2 separate regions of the Homo sapiens genome follow, and region 2 is linked to region 1. Evidence: promoter capture Hi-C in human tissues and cell types (Jung and others, 2019). All regions are on one chromosome and are shown on one strand. Each heading gives the region's core, a stretch centred on a gene start or on the middle of the fragment in contact. The rest is flanking DNA. Distances are from core to core; before and after follow the strand shown. Region 1 holds the start of PTPRR (protein tyrosine phosphatase receptor type R). Region 2 overlaps KCNMB4 (potassium calcium-activated channel subfamily M regulatory beta subunit 4).

Region 1 (7,760 bases), core at 2,947-5,446:
GGTTGGGAAAATACTAAAAAATAATAATGGTGAATTTATATACCTGAACATGGTATTTTCATCTGTGAATTTTGAATTCATTCCTTTTCATCCTGAGCTATATTCCACTCTGAATATAGCTTAATTCACATCAATTATTTACTTTGTAAAAAGAAATTATTTTTCTTCTTTTCTCCTCTTATAAAAGATAGCTCTCAGACAAAAGGAAACAGACTTTGGGATTGATAAAGTGGCTGCATAAAGGATGGGAAAGGGCAAGCACAGAACAAATCTTAGTGAGGTGTTTATAACTGTTACCTATTGCTCCCTTACATGTTCAGAAGTTCCTTGAATCCATTTTGCTGCTTTATATCTCTGCCACTGGCTCACACAATTCCCTGGCCTTTCTCTTCATGTAGAGCAGTTAGAACCTACTTATCCAGCCAGACTCAGTTCGTTTCCTGTTGCCCACCAGTTTCTTGCCTGCTGCCCATCCCCTCCTCTGCTCCCACCCTCCATAGAAGAAATCATTTCCTCCATTCTTCTCCATTCTATCTTAAGCATCTTTCTAACACAGTTCCTCTAAGCATGATTTTACTTGCTGTCTTTGTTCACTAGATGCTAGGGCCCAGAGTCCACTGCCACAAGCAGTGTCTCTTGTTCTCCTGGAGACAGTCTTCTATGAGTGTTCCTCAACACAGAGCTTTACTGTGGGGCCAGGCATCTCATGCCCAGCCCTGATCTAATCATCTAATTCTAGTGAGCAACCTACAACTGAGTGTGTGTGTGTCTGTGTGTGTGTGTGTGTGTGTGTGTTATTAGAGGTAGTATAATATAGTGGTTTGGTATCAAATTATCAGATGTACATCTTAATTCTATCAATTTACTTTTTAACTGATTACTTACTACTTGATTTTGGGCAAGTTACTTCTCCATGCCTCAACTATATTATCTCTAAAATGAGATCATTATAGTATCCTTTTGTAGAAATATTATAATGTTTAAATAGGACATCCAAATGCTTAGAATAGAACCTGGCACACAGGAAGCACAGTCAATGTTAGCCATAATTATACTTAAATAATAGTAATCTAAATAACTTAAGTAGGAGATCCTTATAATCAATGGATCTGATTTCTCAATTTAAAGTGTCTTAAGGAAAGATGGCTGACATGAATAATTTTCATCCATTTATAGAGAAGTAAATATGGATGCTCATAATGATTAAATCTGTTTTGAAGGCAGGCTCTGAAAAGCTTCTTTCTTGCATAAATTTTCTCTAAGACTCACCTCATAAGAAAAAGAAATTATGCATCTTATGTGGAGGAAAATTCCATATGATATTTTTTATTTATCTTGTAAAATGTAAATGATTCTTTTATGACATAGCTCTGTAGGCCACTACTAATTTGTATAGTTCTCTCATAGTAATTTCCATGCTTCTTTGAATTACAGCTAACTTTTTAAAACCCTGATGCAGTGTTTTAACCAAGCTTTTTTTCCAAAACACCAAGTCACCTTCACTAGCATTAGATCACAGTTAAGGAAAAACAGCACCTATCGACTCAGAATATTTCTGTATGAGTTAAGTGGTTGACTTTTTCACTAATTGGCTAATTCATTCATTGCTGTTTGACTTCACGAACAGCAATGAGTGAATTAGCCAATTAGTGAAAAAGTGAATTGAAGCCGTTACAAGTATGATATTAGATTGACTCACATAGGAATATGACCTTTTTCGTTACTTTATCATTTCTAAGTAAATTAATAATGAATGTCTAGTCACCAAAATTACAGCCCACTCAGGGTTATTTTTACCATGCTGAACTAACTATTCTAATGATATATCCAGCCAAATTGGAAATTGGAAATTTTTGCTGCTAACGGAATTTTCATGCATAGTTTAACAATTCAGCTACCTGCAGCCCTGAACAAAATACATTGCCAGCAGGATGCTTTTTGGCAAAGTCATAGTCAATTATAATAATGGGAATTTTAAATGCCCCACCAATAAATGTTGGAATTATCTGTGGAAAAGGAAGGGGTTCAGAACATTACTGCAGCATTGTTTCATTACCATAAGTAAGTATATTTTATTCTTGGAGATCTATGTAAGTTTGATAATTAGTTATTTTAGGAAACAAGAAAATAAGAAAAATAGACCTATTGTAAGTGGGATACAATTATTTTTCCCTAACCTCCAGCCCTGCAGCATTTCTAGTAACAGATGTTAGATGAGAAGAGTTATTCTTCTAAGCTTTACAGAATGCTAAATAAATTATCTCAAAGGTTGACTCAGTAAGAATTTCAAAGAGTTAATTGTCAGTATTGAACTTTGTCAACTATCATTTTCATTTATTCATTTTTGAGTATCTATTTTGCATGAGGCATTGCTCTAGGGAGTTGGGACATATCAATAAAGTCATCAAAGTTCTTCAACATTGGAGCTCAAATTCTGTTTTGCGGGGGGGAGTAGGGAAATAGATACTAAACAATAGATTTTATAAGTAATTATTTTGGTTTGTTAGAAAGTGATACGGGAAAAGCAAACTGGAGGACAGTGAATCAGGAATAGGAGAAGAGGTTGCAGCTTAGAGTGGTTTGGGATGAAATGATAGTGCCACAGAAATGGAGTGTGCCACACGCATGGGGGAGTAGGGGGTGGAGCACGTTGCTAGAGAGGGGCTAGACATGGAGATATGTCTCTATTTTCAGCAGAGAAGGCCTGTCAAGATATTAAAAGTACATCTCATTGTCCCCTTCTCCCACTTGTTGGAGTGCTTCCTGGCCTTGTCTCTCAGAGCTGAAGATGACATAAATCATAAAAGAAATAAATGGTACCGCCTGGGCTCTCTGATCTTATAAGGTCCCACCTAATTTAAGCTCTGGTGGATAGCCTATTTCCCATTAGTTGTCTCAATTCACAGAGGATGGAGAAAGAAAGCACTGAATGAGATGTGCAGCTCAACTCAATGGGCACTTGTTAGCCCCAATTATTTGGCTAGGACAACTTTATTCAAGTTAATGGAATACAAAACTCAGCAGTTCTTATGGAGACTTCAATGTGCTGTAGAACAAACCACAGATAAATGAACTGTCTGAAAGAATAATATGAGGCACGGCTAAACAAGTGTTGTGGAAGAGAAAGATCACTGTAATCTAGAGTTAGTTAGAGTTAGGGCTTTCTGGAAAAGTGAGACCAACATTACACCTTCGAAAACTAGTGTGGTGGTGGTGCAAGTGGAGGAAAATGGGAAAGAGGCAACAGTGTCCATAAAGACACAGAGGCAGAAAGGGCAGAGGCCCTGGGATAGTTAAAAGAGAAGTCTAGCTGAGGGACTTCTTGACTTGACTAGCAGCAATTAGCCATGACTAATAAGGCTTTCCACACTCCAAAGACTTAGATGGAGGGATAAAAAACCATCTAATGGCAGACTGTGGTAGCCTCCCTAGAGACACAGAGCTGGGCCGGATGAGTCCAGGCACTGACGTGATCCATTATCTTTCACCTTAAAGAGTAAAAGGGAAACTAAAGTTAATTACCTCCACGAAACAAAAAGGTGCCTTCTTGTGCTTCAATTACATGGATATATTCTACTAGTCTAAAAGTATCTTCTCACTTCTTTCTGTCACTGTGAGGACTTGAGTCAGAAGAAAGTTTAAATACAGTCATTGAGCTGGAAAGAGTGGAAAGAGAAGCAAAGAGGGGGAAGCTGTAGGAAGGACGAAGTCACCCCCAAGATACATGGTTACTGCTTACACCAAGCAAGCTGCCTTGGGAACGCTTCCCCCGAGCAGCCAGAATGCTCAGCAGTGGAAGACACCTCTATTCCTGTAGGCGAGTCCTGGGAAGCTGGTCAATCTGCAAATGCCAATTCCCAGCAGTGAGCTCGGTCCACGTGTAAATCAAGATTTGGGGAAAGAGTAGGGTGGGTGGCATGGTTGACAATGTCATCAGCTCCCTCCTCTGACTCCTGTGGTCGTGCCCCCATCTACTCTCACTCAGCTACACCCCACCTTCGGATTTGTGATGGACGCTGGGTCCCTAGTAACCACAGCAAGTGTCTCCCCCGCACTTCCCCCTTCCCCACCCCCACCCCCACCCCCAACCACCACCCCAGCGATGGAGCCTACTCTGCTCCAAGCCGCCGCTAAGACCCGGAGAAGCGGAATTTCACTTTGAAATTCCCTTGCCTCGTGAGGGCCGGCGCTGGGCATGCTCAGTAGCCGCGGCGCTGCTGCTGGGCTGCTGGGCTGGCGCGGAGTCCACCCTGCCGTCTCCGCCTTGGCTTCTGGGCGTCCAGAAGGCCAGGCATTTGCCGCCTCTGAGCGCTTCTGTTCCCCTTACCCGCAACCTCCTACTGCTCTTCCTCTCTCCCTCTCTTAGGGAGGTTGAAGCTGGTGCTGGTTTCTGTCGGCGCCACAGACTGACTGCTCTGCAAACCCCAGCCGAGGACCTGAATCCCGGAGACTAGAAGACCCTTGGCGGTGGCTCTTTCTAATAGCACTTTACCTGAAGTGGGGTCGTGGTGGAGTTTCTCCTCCACCTCTCAATGCAAACACTATGCGGAGAGCAGTCTGCTTCCCTGCGCTGTGCCTGCTCCTTAATCTTCACGCTGCAGGTAAGGGGTTGCCAGGCTTAGAGCCGGAGCTGTGCATGAGATGGGAAACTGCACATGCTTAAGGACTCTAGGAAAAGCTTGCCTTGCGAAGAAAGCCTTTCTAAAAAGGTAAAACAGGACAGTACCTGACAGGGAAGGGGTGAGGGAGTCGTGCACCTGTTGGAAAACTGAGGCCGAAAACTTAACCTAAAATTAGCTCTTGATTTTTCTTTACTTTATACGAAAATAGTGAACATTTTCAATATGAATACAGGTTTGCTCCCCCCTTCGCCTCCCCTCCGTCTAGATTCCCTGCTCTTGTTTCTAGGCTATGCACTTAACTGTCAATTTTTCAGGAGAGGGATAAGACATCCTGCTAGATGTAACCTTTTCTACTGCAGCGGCTACTACATTCATAAGGTCTCTTGGTCTAGCGAGCGCTCATAGGAAGGCATTGGCTGTAACCTGATGGACCACATCTCCGCCCAAAAGATCGAAATACATGGTTCACATTAGTGATGCTGCACCAGGCTCCTTTGGCCCCTGCTCTTGTCACTCGAATTTTCTAAGCCAATAAGAGGAAGAAAAGGTTTCAAATAGAATCCTCTTGTCTCTTTCAGCACCGTGGCTAGCGTCCGCTGGCATATTAAAAAAAAAAAAAAAAAAAAAAAAAAAAAAAACAATTACAGTTCCAAAGCTGACAACCCTGGGTTAGGCACTGTCCCTCGGACAGATTTGATAAGGTGTAACCAAGAGTAACAGTGAGACTGCTCCCAAATATAAATAGATTTGAGGCACCAGAATCAATATCAAGTCTCGTGAGGAAGCAAACCTTGGGAAGTACCTGAGAGATATTATATGTGGTGTCCCTGCTTTTTGCATACATAGCACCTCTATTTAATGCAGACAGACTTGCTAGGCTGAATTCCTTATCATTGTCACACACACATGAACCAAAATAAAATATGGCAGGGAGATTTTAGAAACCCTACTGTGACAGCAGTTGTCCATGCAGTAGTCCTGTAACAACCAGAGACGAGGCATTTTCCCTGAGTGTGCTTCTCATCCAATCACACATATCCATTCATTCCTTCAAGCAACATTTGCTGAGTGTATACTATGTTCTAGGGGTAATGAGTAAAAATAATTGTTCTGAAATTACAATCCTTGCAGTATCTTTTTTAAAAGAGTGGGTGAATTTTATTCTCTGTGTACAATAGTAGGAGTGAAATATGGTACTTTCTTATTCCAGCTAACGCTATTATTTAAATGTATCATGAATCTTTTGAGCAAATAATGCATAGGATTATTAAAGCTATTATTAAATACACATGTTAATTGTTATAATTATGATGTTATATTGTGGAGTTTTCAATAGTTCTTTGGCACATTTTGAGAAGTAGAAAATAGCTATGACTTGATTATTAAATTATTTGCAAACAGCTGTAGTGAATTATTTCGTTACCACATACAATTCTTCAATGCTGAAATGTGGGATGAAAACATACACATTGGGTTGAGTTTTATTTATAGTATTGCTTAATAATAGACTGACACAAACATTCATTACAGAAAAATCTCAATTCTTACTAAGGTAGCAATGATTTAGCTGGTCTGCCAACAATATCAGTGTAGTCATTTTTTCAAAACTAACATATAAAAAAGTTTAAAGATCACATTTGATACATCTTGAGTAATTATATCTTAAAAGTTATAAATAAACTGAAGCATGTGAAAAACATGTCTTGATTTACTGTAGATGAATATTCGGGATGAGAAAAATGAGGACTTTTGCTCATCAGATGAGAAACCTAGAAGCCTGTAGCCCTAGATTTTACCTGGAGTTCTGCCAAAGGGTATATTACCAAAGCCAATCCAATCCATCTCTACTTCAACTTTTTAATTTGCAAAACAAAGATAAAAAGTAAGATTAATCAACCAATTTTAATTTAATAAGAAAATGCATTTAAGGACATTTTTATATTTCAATTGCAAGATACTATTCATTGTATTCATATTTAATATAGTAAAATACATTGGTGTTTTATCACAGCAGATTGTAAGTTTAATATTATAGTTCTCTTGCCAATTTCATTTTAAATGCATTTTAATTTTAAACAGCAATTTGTGGGTCACAAGCTGTCATCAGATTAAAATTTATCACAGTTATCTAATAACATTGTTAGGGCTTTTCATCAGAACTAAAACAAACACAGCTCCTTGGTCTAAGCTTCTATACATTTGGAGATTAAGAAAATAAGTGGATGGGATGACAAAGATCAAGAAATCAAGATATTAATCTCTACTTGTTGAAGGTGTGAGTTTGTTACTTTTATGGAAGACTTTTCTCTCAGAACAGAGGCTGACTTCATAAAGAAGGGAAATGAATTCTATACATTCAGGCCTCTTTAACTGTAAAGCTAATTGATCCATTTTGGTTACGCCCAGGGTATCAGCAACTGCTTTATGCTGGTGGAACTGATGACACCTTATAATGCTTTAGAGATGGGAGGAATGTGCTAACGGGATGTAAGTGTTCTTTTTAGCTATATTAGGAACTGTTGCCTTCAATATAACCATGCCTGTAATGATAAGTAGCAAACTGCTTGCAACTTGAGTGCCATCTCCCATTATTTTGCTTATGGTTGCCTAAGACACCATCGGGGGGAAAAAGAAGATTATGACTCGCATTCTGGCTAGGGAGAAGTACTGTGGTCTATAATAGCTGTGGGAGAAAAATGAGGAGTGGGTACCATGCTGTGTAAGTGGCATCTCTGGGTAAATTAACACTAAAGGATTACTAAGCATGGTTCTTGTTAGAGAAGCTGGACACTACTCTACCCATGGCAGCCGATTTTTATAGATCACCTAACAAGGAAGTTGTGGTTATTGTCCATCCAACTGCTTATTTTACAGGTGAGAAAATGAAGATCTAGAGTATTAAAGTGGTAGTTAATAGCATAGTCGGGATAAAAGCCCAGGTTTCCAGACCCGTGGTTGCATACTATATAAAATTATACACTGGTTCTACAATAGGTGAGGCCACCATTGATTAAGTTAGTGGTGCAAAATACTTTTTACCTAACTGTCCTTATTCTTTACTCTTTCGTGAACCAGTTTAATATATAAACTCCAGTTGAAAATACCACTTCAGGAATATTCAAGGAGGCAATTAAAAGC
Region 2 (7,760 bases), core at 1,651-4,150, 540 kb after region 1:
TATTTCTGTTTCTCTGGCATAGTTCAAAGTAGGATTAAAGTTACCTGTTTTCACAGAGTTGACCTGGAAACATTTACAGTTGTAGTTCGTTGACAGCTTTCTCCATTTCCTCTATGGTAATTGGTCTATTTTTTAGAAATCTCTATAGATTGTTTTATTTGGGAAGTTTATATTATCCTAAGAATCATTATCTCATCCTATGAGTTCAAATTTATTGGCATAGAATTGATCGAAGTATTCACTTGAAGTTCATTTAACTTTTCCTGTATTTGTGGTTGTTTCCTCATTTTTGTTTCTAATTTTGTATTTTTGAAGAACATTTCTTTGGCAATTAAACTTGCTGAGGATTCATAACTGAATTTATCTTTCCAAAAATAAAGACAATTCTGCACTCGTTGAAGATGCTCAGCATATCTTCAATGGGAATTTTGAAGCCCTGAAAAATTTCAAGGCTATAAAGTTGTGCTATTAATTTTCTATCCAACTCTTATGCAAAATCAAATAAATGTTCATTAAAAACATTGAAGGGAAAGGTGTTTGACATTAACCGAAGAAAATATTCAGTACATCACAGGGACATGGGAGATAAAGCTAGATGAAAGAAAGCTCAACAGATTGAGGAGGTAGATGCTCTCAAATCCAAGAGTAAATGCACCCCACCACAACACTGTGTGATGTCCTCCAGAGACTGTGCCAGAAAGAAAGCTCCAACCCAGGAGGGGTTTTGTGAATCAGACAGCATTCACAGCAGTTAGGATAGGGCCTGTAACATGGCAGATACCCAATAAACATTTGTTGAACTAACAATTCTGAAGTTTGTGACAAAGTCCCTAAACTCTGTCCTCATCTGTGAAATTCCCCCCGCTTGACACCTCAGTAACTACAAATACAAATACCAAGATGTATTTATTCCAGAAGTATTTATCAATAATATCTGCTTGGAACATTATATATATCATCTATAGTCCTCAGCTTGTAAAGGTTTCTTGATCAAGAGGTTAAGTGACTGACCTATAGATGTTCACCTTTAAATAGGGAGCATCTAGATTCAGGCACATGGGCCTTTTCTTTCTTTTTCTTCTTTTTTTTTTTTTTTTTTTTTTTGAGACAGGGTCTCACTGTGTTGCTCAGGCTGGAGTACAGCGACATAGTCATAGCTCACTGTAACCTTAAACTCCTGGGCTCAAGCGATCCTACCGTCTTGCTAGAACTACAGGTGTGTACCACCATGCCTGGCTAATTAAAAAAAAATTGTTTTAGAAACAGAGTTTCACTATGTTGTCTAGGCTGGCCTCAAACTCCTCTCCTCAAATTATCTTTTCACCTTGACTTCTGAAAGTGTTGGGATTACAGGCATGAGCCACTACACTTAGACTGGCGTTTTCCATTATACCAGGTAGCTTCTCAAATGTCTATGTGCCCAGCTCTGTCCTAGACTCTGTTAGTGAATCCCGAGGTGTTTCCCCAACGGGGACTGTGAGAGGCCTTTTCAGTCATTCATTATCGTGGTGACAAGTTGGGATGGGAGAGGGGTATTTAAGTAAAACAGCATGGTTTTGTAAGAAGGTAGTTTTATCTTAATACATCGATCCTCTCCATTGTAATATTTAGTCTCTTGTGTTTCACAGAGCATTTATTTTAAAGTAACAGTTCTCAGTTTTCTCTCACAAAAATAAGCCTTCTTTATTGGAGAAATTTAGAAGCTACAGGTGGTCAAAAATCGTATTTATGGTGTGCATTTTTTCCATTTTGTCATTTATCTTTGATCTTTGTATATAGTCTTTTTTCATATAAAAATGTTCAATTTACATGAACACAATAGGGTCTTGCAGATGGAATTAGTTAAGATGAGGTCACAGTGGATTAGAGTAGGCCCTAAATTCAATGACTGGTGTTTTTTGTTTGTTTTGAGATGGAATCTTGCTCTGTCACTCAGGCTGGAATGCAGTGGCACGGTCTCGGCTCACTGCAACTTCTGCCCCCTGGGTTCAAGTGATTTTCCTGCCTCAGCCTCCTGAGTAGCTGGGGTTATAGGTGCACATCATCAAGCCCAGCTAATTTTTATGTTTTTAGGAGAGACAGGGTTTCACCATGTTGGCCAGGCTGGTCTCAAACTCCTGGCCTCAAGTGATCCACCCAACTTGGCCTCCCAAAGTGCTGGGATTACAGGCGTAAGCCACCGCACCTGGCTGTACTGGTGTTTTTATAAGAGAAAGAAGAAAGGGATACGGAGACACATACAGAGGGAAAAAGGCCATGTGAAGACAGAGGCAGCAACTGGAGTGATGCAACTGCAGGCCAAGGAATGCAAGGATTGCAGGAAACAACCATTGCTAGGAAGAGGCAAGGAAGGGTGTTTTTCTAGAGCCTTCAGGGGAGCATGGACCTGTTTGATTTTGGACTTACAGACTTCAGAACTGTGGACAAATAAATCTCTGTTGAGTTAAGCAACCTCGTTTGTAGTACTTTGTTATGGCAGCCCTAAGACCCTAAGACATGTATTTTTCAGGATTTTGATATGTATTTCCAAGTTGACATGCAATTGCTCCTGCAACATGTTGCCACCAGCAGTGCACAAGACTGCCCACATCCCCATATTGCCACCAATTTAATATGTACCAACTTGATAGGCAGAAAAGGTATCTCAACATTGCATTAATTAATATTTCTTTTTTCCCCTTAGCTTTACTGAAATATACTTGACAAATAAAAATTGCACATATTTAAGGTATATAACGTGATGTTTTGATATATGTGTACGTTGTGAAATAACTGCCACAATCTAATTAGCACGTCCATCACCTTACATAGTTATGATCTGATTAGTACAGTCCTGTGCTGAATAATGACATTTCAGTCAATGATGAACTGCATTTATGACTGTGGTCTCATGAGATTATAATACTGTATTTTTACTGTACCTTTTCTATGTTTAAATACACAAAAACTTACCATTCTGCTACAACTGCCTATAGTATTCAGTACACTCATAGTACAGGTTTGTAGCCTAGGAGCAATAGGCTATATCATATAGCCTGGGTGTGTAGTAGGCTATACTATCTAGGTTTGTGTAAGTACACTCTATGATGTTCACAGGACAAAATCACCTTAAACAATGAACGACTGTATTTCTTTGATTTTTAGTGAGATACCACATATTTTTCATGTTTTTATTTGTAATTCTTTACTGAACTGCCTACGCATGTTCATGCCTAGTATTTTACTGAAGAGATGGTCTTTTATTGCTAAGAGTACTTCATATGTTGACTTTTTAATCATTTCCCCACCATGTTGCAAACATTTGTCCAAATTTATCATTTTTCCTTCAATTTTAATGTTCAAAAAAATGTGTAAGTTTTCCCTTATTATATCATTAATCAGTGTATTCCTTTATGATTTCTGTCCTTGCTACATGTTTAGAAAAGCTTTGCCCACCCCATATATACAATATTAATGTATAAAATATATATTTACCCAAATTTTATTTAGTACTTTCATAATTTATTTTTGTACCTTTAAATTTTTTTTTTTTTTTTTTTTTTTTTGAGACGGAGTCTCGTTCTGTCGCCCAGGCGGGAGTGCTGTGGCGCGATCTCCGCTCACTGCAAGCTCCGCCTTCCGGGTTCACGCCATTCTCCTGCCTCAGCCTCCAGAGTAGCTGGGACTACAGGCGCCCGCCACTGCGCCCGGCTAATTTTTTGTATTTTTAGTAGAGACAGGGTTTCACCGTGGTCTCGATCTCCTGACCTCGTGATCCGCCCGCCTCGGCCTCCCAAAGTGCTGGGATTACAGGCGTGAGCCACCGCGCCCGGCCACCTTTAAAATTTTATTCCATCAAAACTAAAATTTTAATTTTAATTAGATGTATATTTCTAAGTAAATATTTTCCAAATAACATTTTGATGATTCCTAGTATTTTCCAAACAAGTTTTTAAATTTAGAAAATTAGTTTTTTAAAATTTATTTCCAAAAAATAATAGGCAGTTTTAACACCACTTGCTGAATAATACATTGCTTTACAAGTTATTTGAAATGCTGAAATTTGCAAAGCAATCATTCATTATTATTTTTTGGGCAAGAGATTTATTGAAATATAATTCACATACCATCCAATTTACCCATTAAAAGTGTACAATTTAATGGTTTTTAGTAGATTGCACAGAGGTGTGCAACAATCATCACAATCAATTTTAGAATGTTTTCATTACACCAAAAAGACCCCTGTACCCTTTAGCTGTCATTCCCAATCTTCCCATGCCTTCTAGCTTTAGGCAACCACTAATCTACTTTCAGTCTCTATAGATTTCCTTCCTTATTCTGGACATTTCCTGTAAATGGACTCATATAACGTGTGTTTTTTTGTGGCTGGCTTCCTATACTTACCATATTTTTGAAGTTCATCCATATTGTATTAACACTTCATTCTTTTTACAGCCAAGTAATTTTCCATTGTATGAATTAGCATATTTCATTTATCCATTCATCAGTTGATGGATGTTTGGTTTGTTTCCACCTTTTAGCTATTATGAATAATGCTGCTATGAAGAGTCATGTACAAAGTTTCTGCATGGACATGTTTTCGTTTCTCTTGGATATATAATTAGGAAAAAGTTGCTTGGTCACATGGCAACTGTTTAGCGTTTTGAGGAACTGTCAAACTGTTTTCCAAAGTGGCTGTTATCTTTTTCATTCTTACATTCTTGTATGAAGATTCCAATTTATTTTGACAACACTTGTTATTGTCTTTTTTACAGCCATTCTAATGGATCTGAAGTGGTATTTCATTGGGGTTTTGATTTTCATTTCCCTCATGACTAAAAATGTCAAACATTTTTTCATGTGCTCATTGGCCATTTGGATACCTTCTTTGGAAAAAAAAAAACTATTCACATCCTTTGCCCACTTTTAAATTGGATTATTTGTCTTGTTGTGTTGTAAGCATTCTTCATTATTTTCTTGGTACTAGACACTTATCAGATACATTATTTGCAAATATTTTCTTTCTGTTACACTTGTCTTTTCATTTTATTGATGGTGTCCTTTGAAGCACAAATGTTTTTAATTTTAATTAAGTCCAACATATCTATTTGTCCTTTAGTTGCTTGTGCTTTTAGTATCATATTCAAGCATTAAAGTTTTAGCACTTATATTTAGGTCTCCCATCCATTATTTTAATGTGCAATCAGAGTTCAACTTCATTCCTTGGCATGTGGATATTCAGCTGTTCAAGCACCACTGATTGAAAAGACTGTTCTTTCCCTATTGAATGCTCTTGACACTCTTGTCAAAAATCAACCGTCCATGATGTATAGGTTTTTTTTTTTTTTTGGACTCTCAGTTCTATTCCATAGGTTGGTAGGTCCATCCTTATTCAGTATCACACAGTCCTGAGTACTGTAGCTTTGTTGTACAGGCACACTTCGTTTTATTGCTTGCTTTATTGTGTTTTGCAGATATTGCATTCTTTTACAGATGGAAGGTTTGTGGCAACCCTGAGAACAAGTCCATTGGCACCATTTTTTCCAACAGCATGCACTTACTTCATGTCTCTGTGCCACATTTTGGTAATTTTCACAGTATTTCAAACTTTTCATGATTATTATATCTGTTATGGTGATCTGTGATCAGTAATCTTTGATGTTACTATTATAATTGCTTTGGGGATGCCACAAACCATGCCCATATGAGGACAAAGTTAATCAATGAATGTGTGAGTGTTCTAAGTGCTCCACCAACCACCTGTTCCCCTGTCTCTCTACCTCTTCTGGGGCCTCTCTATTCCTGAAACAAAACAATATTGAAATTAGGCCAATTAATACCTCTACAACAGCCTCTAAGTGTTCAAGTGAAAGGAAGAGTCATTGTCTCTCACTCTAAATTAAAAACTAGAAATGACTAAGCTTAATGAGGAGAGCACATCAAAAGCTGAGACAGGCTGAAAGGTAGGCCTCTTCTGCCAAACAGCCAAGTTGTGAATGCAGAGGAAAAGCTTCTGCAAAAAAATTCAAAGTGCTACTCTAGTGAACACACGAATGATAAGAAAGTGAAACAGCCTTATTGCTGATATGGAGAAAGGTTTAGTGGTCTGGATAGAGGATCAAACCAGCCACAACATTTCTTTAAGCCAAAGCCTAATCCAGAGCAATGCTCTACCCTCTTTAATTTTATGAAGGCTGCCAGAAGTGAGGAAGCTACAGAAGCTAACAGAGGTTCATTCATGAGGTTTAAGAAAAGAAGCCATCTTCATAACATAAAAGTGCAAAATGGGCTGGGCATGGTGGCTCATGCCTGTAATCCCAGCATTCTGAAGGGAGAAGAAGGCAGATCACTTGAGCAAATTCAAGACCAGCCTGGGAAACATGGCCAAACCCCATCTCTACAAAAAATACAAACATTAGCCAGGTGTGGTAGAGTGCACCTGTAGTCCTAGCTACTTGGGAGGCTGAGGTGGGAGGATGGCTTGAGCTTGGGGTGGAGGTTGTAGTGAGCAGAGATCACACCACTGCACTCCAGCCTGGGTGACAGCCAGACCTTGTCTCAAAAAGAAAAAAAAAGTGCAAAGTGAAGCAGCAAGTGCTCATGTAGAAGCTGCAAGTTATCTAGAAGATCTAGCTTAGATAATTTATAAAGGTGGCTACACTAAACAACAGATTTTCACCATGGATGAAACAGCCCTCTATTGGAAGAAGATCTAGGACTTTCATAGCTATAAAGTCCAGGCTTCAAAGTTTCAAAGAACAGGCTGACTCTTGTTAGAGGCTAGTGTAGCTGGTGACTTTAAGCTGAAGCCAGTGCTCATTTACCATTTCAAAGATCCTACGGCCCTTAAAAATTGTGCTAAGTCTACTCTGCCTGTGCTTTAGAAATGGAACAAGAAAGCCTGGATGATAGCACATCAGTTTACAGCATGGTTTACTGAATATTTAAAGCCCACTGTTGAGACCTACTGTTCAGAAAAAAAGATTCCTTTCAAAATACTACTGCTAACTGACAGTGTACCTCATCACCCAAGAGCTCTGATGGAGATGTATGAGGAGATTAATGTTGTTTTCATGCCTGCTAACATGACATCCATACTGCAGCCCATGGATCAGGGAGTAAGTTCGACTTTCATGTCTTATTATTTAAAAAATACACTTTGGGCTGGGTGTGGTGGCTTACACCTGTAATCCCAGCATTTTGGGAGGCCGAGATGGGTGAATCACTTGAGGTCAGGAGTTCAAGACCAGCCTGATCAACATGGTGAAGCCTTGTCTCTACTAAAAATACAAAAATTAGCCGGGCATGGTGGCGTGCAACTGTAGTCCCAGCTACTCAGGAAGCTGAGGCAGGAGAATCACTTGAACCCAGGAGGCAGAGGGTGAAGCGAGCCAAGACCACACCATTGTACTCGAGCCTGGGTGGCACAGCGAGACTCCATCTCAAAAAGTAAATAAATAAAATAAAAAATAAAAAATACACTTCATAAAGCTGTAGCTATAGTGATTCCTCTGATGGATCTGGGCAAAGTAAATGAAAAACTTTCTGGAAGGGATTCAACAATTTGATGCCATTATGAACATTAGTAAATCATGAACGGAGGTTAAAATAACATTATAGGAGTTTGGAAGAAGTTGATTCCAACCCTCATGGATGACTTGTGGTGTTCAAGACATCAATGGAGAAAGTAACTACAGATGTGGTAGAAATAGGAAAGAACTAGAATTAGAAGTAGAGCTTGAAGGCCGGGCGCGGTGGCTCATGCTTGTAATCTTAGCACT

The links. Contacts are between HindIII fragments. The study calls those that stand out against the background at their distance.
Region 2: a contact is called between a fragment that was not itself captured here and the fragment with the promoter of PTPRR in region 1, in 2 of the 25 tissues and cell types used here (pancreas and sigmoid colon).

Annotation. Positions count from the first base shown.
Region 1 is chr12:70,917,174-70,924,933 of GRCh38, reverse strand. It overlaps PTPRR (protein tyrosine phosphatase receptor type R), which reads left to right and starts at 4,196. Exons shown (of 14, transcript NM_002849.4): 1 at 4,196-4,601. The coding sequence starts at 4,544. The HindIII fragment of the contact is 3,890 bases long and covers 1,855-5,744 here.
Region 2 is chr12:70,378,218-70,385,977 of GRCh38, reverse strand. All of the region lies in intron 1 of KCNMB4 (potassium calcium-activated channel subfamily M regulatory beta subunit 4), which reads right to left. Among named protein-coding and RNA genes, the nearest start is that of KCNMB4, 16 kb to the right of the region's middle. The HindIII fragment of the contact is 3,527 bases long and covers 1,137-4,663 here.